Linked DNA regions of Homo sapiens: region 1 is linked to region 2. The links are contacts of gene promoters, found by promoter capture Hi-C in human tissues and cell types (Jung and others, 2019). All regions are on one chromosome and are shown on one strand. Each heading gives the region's core, a stretch centred on a gene start or on the middle of the fragment in contact. The rest is flanking DNA. Distances are from core to core; before and after follow the strand shown. Region 1 has its middle 33 kb from the start of CHRNB4. Region 2 holds the start of CRABP1 (cellular retinoic acid binding protein 1).

Region 1 (4,165 bases), core at 1,624-4,123, 330 kb after region 2:
ACCGGGAAATCTGCTGTTAGTGGAGCAGGAGAGCCTGAGGGCCAATGCTCCAGGGAGTCAGGGGCTCAATTAAGCTTCAGTAAATTGGATTTCTGGCCGTGAGGCCATGGGGCTGGGGTTGGCATTGAGGCATGAGCTGCCAGACGGTATTAGGCCAAGGACTGACCAGATGGGCCCAGTAGCTAATTCAATCTGGCTTCCCAGAAACAGGACTTGGAAGGCCAGAGCTATGGGCCTGGACAGCTGTGACTCCAGCTGGGAGGGCAAGATCTTATGTGGCACTGGGCCCACCCTGTGGCTCGTCTCAGGGAGTCCTGTGCCCGGCATCTGGCCTCAGCCAGCTGTGCACTAACAATCCTGATAACCAGTGATAAGTGGCAGTTTAGTGCTAGGGAAAAAGCCCAGCCTGGGGATTGGGGGCCAGGGCTGTGGGCTCCACACAGGTATCAGCTTGCTCTAGGAGTGAATTTAGGTAAGTCTCATTCTCTAGGACTAACATTCTTGCTTCTATGGGCTGCCATAGTCTTAAAAAAAAAAAAAGAAAAAAAGAGTCAGAAAACTCAGAATGGGAGAGAGGCTGAAACTAAGAGATTGTAAGGTACATGGATGTGCTTTGGTCTAGGAACAGGCCAAGGCGGATATTCAGGCCTGCATGACTCAGCTAGTTTGGTGCACAAGTGCACACCTCCACTTGTTATATAACCTGTTTGTGTAAGTTCATACTTGGCTTTAAGTTACTATGGTCTGTAAAAGGTATAACTGTCCTGCTGATGCTGTGCATGGGGCTTGGCTCTTGGGTGTCTCGGCTCGGCTCAACATGGCTTGGCATGGCAGGTGCGCGGGTGCCCAGAGAAAGAGAGAGAGAGTCAAAGCTCTCCATCTTGCAGATGGACAGGAGGGAGTCAGGACCCAACTTGGCTTGCTTGTGCCCAGAGAGAGAAAGAGTTAAGCTGCTGACCCTGAAGGCAAAGGAGAGCTGGCTGCACAACTGTGCGTGGGGGCAGCCAGCTCAAGCAGCCGAGACAGGGTGAACAGTGTGTGAGTAAGTTGTTAATGAGAAAGCTAATTTAAATAAGCTGTGTAAGAGAGCTGCTGCTGAATAAACCATAGTCACCTGCCTATGGCCCCCCGAGTGTTCTTTCTGCCCATCCACGCACTCCCCTTGGACTTCAGCATGGGCTGGACCTGGACCCCGGGATCTGACAGAGATCATAGTAGATAAAGATAGAATGAGATAGAGACAGAGAGAGGCAGAGAGTGAGTCAGGTACACAAGAGAGGCAGAAAAAGATACAAACAACAGGGAGAGGGAGAGACAGCTAGACAGAGCAAGACAAAGATACAGTTGGCTTAGAGAGCAGAGAAAAAAAGACAGGAAGAGAGAGACTGAAGCCAAAGTTTCACTACAAAATGAATGTTCTAAGTGGGGGCGGCAGGGCTTTTTTTTCTTTTCCTTAATAGTTCCTAACCTGGTCTTAAAAACCCAGTTCCCAAATGGTCAGAGAAGGCCCCATTCTCATTCTTGGAAAAGAGGAGAAGGAGAGTTTTTCTCTGTGCTTCTCCCGGTTGCTTTCTCCAACCAGGGCACGGAATTCCAAATTTGGAGCAGCCCTAGCAGCCCGAGCTGTCTGGTCAGTTGGCCTCAGCCGAGTCTGCACCAAAAATCTTCCCAAACCTCACACAGAGTCCTCACACCAGCCCCTTTCTGGGCCTTAGACCACCCCAGCTGTCAGAGCTGCAATGGAAAGGTCAGGGCCAGGCCAGCACAGCATCCCTGTGTCCTGATTGGCATGAATCCTCCATCGTTTCCTGCCCAGCCCTTCTTCCCAGAAGTCACACCGTGGGAGTTCCTGTGTCCTGCTGTGTCCCACTTTCTGACACCCAAAACTCACCGTGTGTCATCCCTTCAGGCCTTTTCTCTCTTGGACTGGGCCTGCCAGAGACTGAACTCACATCAGGGGTCTCTGGCAGACTGGCCGGCCACTCCCATGCCTGCCAGGGACTTGTTTCCCATTTTCTGTCCCACCCCAACCCATGCTGCAGCCCCAGGTGTCCCTCATCTGCACCAAGCCAGGCCCATCTCTTGGCTATCCAGTAACTACTGGGAGTCAGGGACACAGAGTTTCAGATCCTCAGCTTCCCTACTGGGGCATGGTGAGCCAGGGAGAGAATGGACAGACTTGAGCAGCGGTTCTTGGCTTGGACCACACATTGGCATCATCTGGGAGCTGTCAAAGCCACCCATGTGCCAGGATCCCACCCCTGAGAGACTCTGTTGTAGTTGGCCTGGGGAGTGGCCTGGACATTGGGATTTTGAAAAGCTCCCAGGGTATCCTGATATGCATCCAGGGTTAAGAACCAGTGTCATCAACCCAGGCCTGCGCCAGAAAGAGTCCACCCCAGACCTCACCTGCCAGAGACTCAGAGACAGCCAGGCCCCGGCCCAGGGTAACACAGCTGGAAGGGGCAGAGTGGTGCTGGCCAGAGTTCCTCCATCATCTTCCTCAGCTCCTCACCCCCTTCAACTCCAGGGACAAGAGCTCTGTCTCTTACCTTGGTCTGTCCACTCTGAACTCTGGGATCCCAGGAGTTGAGTTCTGTATTCACCTGTTACCAACAACATGTTCCTCTCTGACCCTCATCTCCTCGACTGTAGTTTGGAGAGAATAGTAACCACTTCACAGGGTTGCAGTGACAATTAAATGAGTTTAATATGTTAAAGGCTTATCATGGTGCCTGGCACTTAGTAAGCACTAAAATGTTATCTATTAGTATTGCGGTTACTGTTATTGTTCCCACAAAGAAAGCATGAACAAACAACAGAGTCTGGCTGGCAATTTGGGGGAGTGGGGCAATCCAATGGTGTATGTTATGAGTTGAACAGTGGCCTCCCGAAAAGACATGTCCATTTCCTAACCCGCATACCCTGTGAATGTGGTGTTATTGGGGAAAAGGGTCTTTGTAGGTATAATCAAGGATTTCAAGATGAGATCGTCTGAGCGGGGCCTAAATCCAGTGTGTCCTTATAGGAGACAGAAAAGGAAAGGCACAAAAAAGACCATGGGAAGACAGAGGCAGAGGCTGGAGTGATGCAGCCATGAGTTAAAGAATGTCTGGGTCCCCCAGGAGCTGGAAGAGGCAAGGAGGGACTCTGCCATAGCACATTCCGAGGGAACGTGGGCCTGCCAGCACCTTGATGTCAGACCTCTGGCCTCTAGAACTGTGAGCAAAGTTCTGGGATTTTAAGCCAACCATTTTGCTTTAATTTGTTACAACAGCTGCAGGAAAGCTACCTTCAGAGCTAAATGTTGCTGGCTAGAAACATCCCTGGACCAGGACAGTTGGCCCATTAGTCATACCTTAGGGAGGTGGGATTGGGGGTAGCGGCTCAGCACTGCCCTGTGTTGGTGCTACAGGGGGGCTCAGGCCTGAGGACCTTCTGGGGGCCAGGCACTGGAGCTGCCCCCTTCACTGTGGAGGCCTCAACAAGTTCCTTCCCCTCTGTAGGCCTCACCCACCCCCCTACTTGGCGTTTTGCATGTCTCTGTGAGTCTTGGGGAGAAAAGACCCCCATGTGATCAACTCCTCTGAGGTCAGGCCTGGCAAGGCCAGGAGCACCTCTGGTGTGAAGTAGATGCTCACCCACCCCTCCCTGCGCTGCCCAGGACTTCAGGGCCCAGACCTCCCAAGCTAATGGCTAATGGCTAATGCAACCAGAAAATGAGCCCTCTCATTCTACGGCCGGCTCTCCCCAAATGGACTTGAGGAGAATGAGATCTAATGAAGTCTTTTCTATGGGATAGTTCCAAAGCTTCCCTGTGGTCAGCCGAGGGGCACCATGAGGAAGCATGTGTCTGGGCAACAGGCCCCTGTGTGTTGCCAGGCAAGCCTAAGGGGGTCCATGGAGGGCTTTGTGTCCAGGGGCTCTCAGTGGTGACACCAGCAGGGCCAGCAGTTTCTGAGGGGCTACCCACCCACACCTCTTCATTCCCACTCTAACTATGAGGTGTGTGTATGGGTGGGGCTGGGGGAGGCAGGAGCAGCTGCTTGAGGGACACCAAGGACAACTTGGTGAACACTGACACTAAAAGGAAAGCCAAGTTCATTGAGTCCAGTGGTCTCATCATACAGCTGGGAATACCGAGGCCCGGAGAGGGGAGGGACTA
Region 2 (4,513 bases), core at 968-3,467:
GCTCCAACATTGCTGCCCTCCTCCAGCCTCCTGCCCCAGTCCCTCCCCAGCCCTGCCCTTTAGATGGCTGAAGCCTTCTTAGGGAAGAGTGTTGGATGGGGGCAGAGGCCTGCATTAGCTGGATGGCACTCCTGTTTTGCCCCTTCACTGGAGAGGCACTCAACCCTCTGTGAAGTGGGTTTGATTCTATGGCAGCTCCATCCCTTGCCTCCCACATCCAGGACCTGCTACTTAATTTGCAGATCCCAGTGCAAAATAAAAATTCAGGACTCCTTGTTCAAAAAGTATTATGGGGCCAGGCACGGTGGCTCATGCCTGTAATCCCAGCACTTTGGGAGGCCGAGGAGGGCGGATCACGAGGTCAGGAGATCGAGACTATCCTGGCTAACACAGTGAAACCCTGTCTCTACTAAAAATACAAAAAATTAGCTGGGCATAGTAGCACACACCTGTAGTCCCAGCTACTTGGGAGGCTGAGCCAGGAGAATCATTTAAACCCAGGAGGCAGAGGTTGCAGTGAGCCAAGATTGCGCCACTGCACTCCAGCTCGGGCAACAGAGCGAGACTCTGTCTCAAAACAAACAAACAAACAAAAAGTATTCTGACGTTCAAGCTGGCAATAGCAGAGCATTCCTGCTTTTCCATTTTCCAATCTAACTATCAGGCCCTTCTAAGTGCATGGCCCTGTGTGACTGCACAGACGGCACGTCCAGAATGCCGGCCCTGCCCATGCCCCTTTCCAGCTGGTGATGGCCCCACTCCCCTCTCCTGTCCTCAGCTGCTTTCTTAGACAGATCCTCGGAGCCTCCTGGCAGCAACCCAGCCCCAGCCACCTCCAGAAGTTTCCAGGGCCCTGTTCAGTAGGCACTCAGCACAGATTCCCCAAGGTCCTGGGGGAATCTTCACCCCAGGCCACCACTCACATCCTCCTCAAATCAATGCACAGTTATCGAGCCCCACCTGGCTAAGCCTTAGGAAGGGAGGACAAGTGGATAAACGATCACTGCCCTCCAGGAGTTCAGTTTATAGCAGAGCGAAGACTTGAACAAGAGCAGGACCGGACAAGAATCCTGTCAATTCAGAGAAAAATAATCACAGTTTATTAGGAAACTGAATTTCACAAAAGAGAGAGCATAAAGATGGGCTTTCGTGAATGGGCAAGATTTGATTAACCCGATGAGGAAAGGGGCATTCAAGGAAGAAGCCATGGCATGGGCAAAAACTTAGAGATAATAAAATGCATGGCACGTTCTAGAATCCTGAATTGTACAGTTTGGCTGAGGTGTGCAGATGGTAAAATAGTGGGAAAAAGCTGGAAGGAAAATGTACAGAGAAGAGCTACAAGGGTAATAGTGAAGTGTTTGTACTCCCTTAGTGGAAACACCGAGGGGACTTTAGGTCGTGATGTTTAGGTTATTTGGGAGCAAAGGGAGAAGACTTCCTCCCCTTGGCCCTCACAGCCTGCCCGAAGAGTGCAAAGCCTCACGCTTTTGCAAAACAGGCCGCACCTAGCCCAGATTCTGGAGCTGATTCAGTCCATGCCTCTCGACCCACAGTTTGTCCTGAGCCCTGACAAAGGTCTGGCCCCCTCCTGCACTCGGAACGCGGAGGACCCGCAGCTCGTGGATTCGCGCCTCAGTGCCCAAGCTGGTGTTGATGGGGGTTGCGGTTTCCTGCCACTCACTCCCCATGGGTCCTGTGGGGGGCGTGGGGATGCGGGGAGAGGGTTTCAGAATAGGATCCCGGACTGGGAGGGAAGGGACACCATCTGGGCACACCCAGTAGGTACGACCGGAGGTGAAAAAAGAGTGGGTCCCATCCCCTGATGGCCCCGCTCGCTATCCACTTTAAGTTTATGTTATGGATATTTTCAAACATATTCAAAAGTAGAGAGAAAAGTAGAATCATAACCCAAGTCCACACCGCCCAGCTTCAACAGTTATCCCCTCCAAGCCCATCTTGTTTCAGCTAACCCTCTCCCACCACCCATTTTAAAGCGGGATGTGGGTGTCCTGAGGGAGGTGGAGGCTCCCCAGTTGGAGAGCGGGTGCCCGCACCTCTGGAGGCTGAGGCACAACTGGGCTGGGAGTTGAGCGCATACCGAGTAGGGGCTGCGGGGGAGCGGGGGCAGGGCCGGCGGGGCGGGGCCAGAAGCCCGGCGGGGTTGGGGGCGCTCTCCTAGTGACTCAAGGCGCGCAGCGCTGGGCGCAAAGCGCCAGTCTCCGCCTTGCGAGCTCAGAGTGTGCCCGCTGCGCCGCCGCTGTCCGTACCTGCCGCCGCCGCCACCGCCACCATGCCCAACTTCGCCGGCACCTGGAAGATGCGCAGCAGCGAGAATTTCGACGAGCTGCTCAAGGCACTGGGTAAGCTGGTGCAGAGGGCGCGCCCCGACGGGGAGATGCGGCCCGGAGGTGCCCTGGTCCCGGAAGTGCCCCGGTCCTGGAGGGGGTGGAAGTTGGGGAGCCCAGGCAGGAGGGAGTCCCCGGGGCAATAGATCGCCTTGTCTCCCAGGCGCACCGGGTCTCGGAGAAGCTGGTAGAGATCCCGGAACCCACGCGTTCAGCGAACGTTTGCTGAATGTTTGGCGCCCTCCTCGATGGTGCGGACTTTATCTCGTGCTAGATCATAGCGAGGAGAGATTACTGGAGAGCAAGGAGGATCAGGGACTTAAATTTGGAGACTCAAATTTGGGACCAGGCTCTGCCACGAATTCACTGTGCAACTCGAGGAAAGTCACTTACCCTCTCTGTGCCTCAGTCTCTCATCTCGAAAACAAGGGCGAGGGCAGGGAAACGAGTGGATCAATTTTAAGGCCCCTTTCTAAAGTTAGGGTATGACCAGTGCCCGACCGGTCCCGAGACTGGCGGCGAGGCCCCGTGACCCAAGCCTGTGGTGCACCCTGCGCAGGTGTGAACGCCATGCTGAGGAAAGTGGCCGTAGCGGCTGCGTCCAAGCCGCACGTGGAGATCCGCCAGGACGGGGATCAGTTCTACATCAAGACATCCACCACGGTGCGCACCACTGAGATCAACTTCAAGGTCGGAGAAGGCTTTGAGGAGGAGACCGTGGACGGACGCAAGTGCAGGGTGAGGCCCCAGAGCCACTACAGCGTCCCCGTGTCCCCGCTCGGTGCCCATGGCCCACTGCTGCTGGAGGAACCTGTGTCTCCCTTTGCAGCCTGTGGCGCGCCTTCCTTGCAGGGTGTGTACACTGGCTGTTTGCAGAGGGGGTTTGTGCATCCTAGTTGCCCCTGGCTCAAGACAAAGTATTACCTTCATTCCATCTCAACCCCATCCCTACGCTGCCTCCCGGGGTGCTAACAGCCGCGCTTAAAGAGCGGGCTCTGGGTTGCGCCGCGTTCCCAGCAGTGGCTTTTGCAGCGGTTTGCAGCGCCAAGCGCAGGCGGCGCAGGAGGAGGAGGAGGTTGCAGGAGCCGCCAGGTTCTCTGTCGCAGGTGAAGCCGCAGCTCTTGCATTCCTTTCCCGCCGTATCCCCCGCGCCCGCCCGGGTCCCTGGGCCGCCTGGGTACGCTCTGGATACAGTTTTAGCAGTCCCGATGGCCCCGTCACCTCTCCCTTCCCGCCTTCGGCCTGGTTCCTTAAAGGAACGGCGGAGTCTTTCCAAAAGCAAGGCAGGTTCTGGCTGGGAAAATGGACTAGTTGCCCTCTCTTAGTCCTCAAGGGCAAGAGTTTTTTTTTATTTCTCCATGCATCGGCCCAGGGATGAACCGGTGGATTGAAGCAAGGGGTTGTACATTCGTTTTTTGCATGGGCAAAAATTGCATTTGGTTAACCAGATGGAAAAATAATCACCGGTGCTACCACTTATTTAAAAAGTGACAGAATGTCTCCCTCCCCTTCTCCAATTTTTTTTTTTTAAAGAAAAAAGTCGTAACATTCCAGAGAGTGGGAAATTGTTTCTTTCACCTTTCCTGAGCAGTGCCTGGTCTGATCTCGGAATGGGACTCTCTGAGCACCGGGCTTGGAAGGACAAAGAAACAAAGCCCCCCAGAAGCAGGCTGATCTAGGAGGCAATCTTTGGCTCCAGAATTGTCATAGCCTGGAAATGATCTCCACGCTTGGAGGGGGTGGGATCTGAAGCCTAAACTGCACTGCAGAAACAAAGAGCAGGACAGCATAGAGTGAAGGGCTGGGAGTCTAAGAGAGGAGGCTTGGCAATAGGCAGGGCTCAGTCTGGGGACATCCAATGTTGGCTACTGCCAGGAAGGGTAATTCTGATTTAAAAAAAAAAAATTAAAGGTTCACACAACAGCCGGGAGAGTGGGGCTTTATGCACCCCCCATCCCCCCACACCTTGCCTAATGAATGTGTCCCATGTGTTAGTTAAAAACTGATTATGTGCACATTCAGCTCTGGCCCACCCCCCAGCCCAGCTGTACCACACTTAGCTTTGTGCAGACACTGGGGAAAAACTTCAGGAAATCCCTCCTTTTGCCTCCCACCTCCAAAAGCATGAAGAGCCTTCAGATTGATTTGCTTTTTAAATTTTTTCT

What was found. The method cuts DNA at HindIII sites, captures the fragments that hold promoters and counts their contacts. A contact is called where the count stands out against the background at its distance.
Region 1: a contact is called between a fragment that was not itself captured here and the fragment with the promoter of CRABP1 in region 2, in 2 of the 25 tissues and cell types used here (H1 embryonic stem cells and mesenchymal stem cells).

What each region holds. Positions count from the first base shown.
Region 1 is chr15:78,671,821-78,675,985 of GRCh38, forward strand. No RefSeq gene overlaps it. Among named protein-coding and RNA genes, the nearest start is that of CHRNB4, 33 kb to the left of the region's middle. RefSeq lists enhancers at 1-566, 1,459-2,349. The HindIII fragment of the contact is 7,783 bases long and covers 1-4,165 here.
Region 2 is chr15:78,338,136-78,342,648 of GRCh38, forward strand. CRABP1 (cellular retinoic acid binding protein 1) reads left to right here and starts at 2,218. Exons shown (of 4, transcript NM_004378.3): 1 at 2,218-2,363; 2 at 2,908-3,086. The coding sequence starts at 2,294. RefSeq lists an enhancer at 1,768-2,396. The HindIII fragment of the contact is 13,960 bases long and covers 1-4,513 here.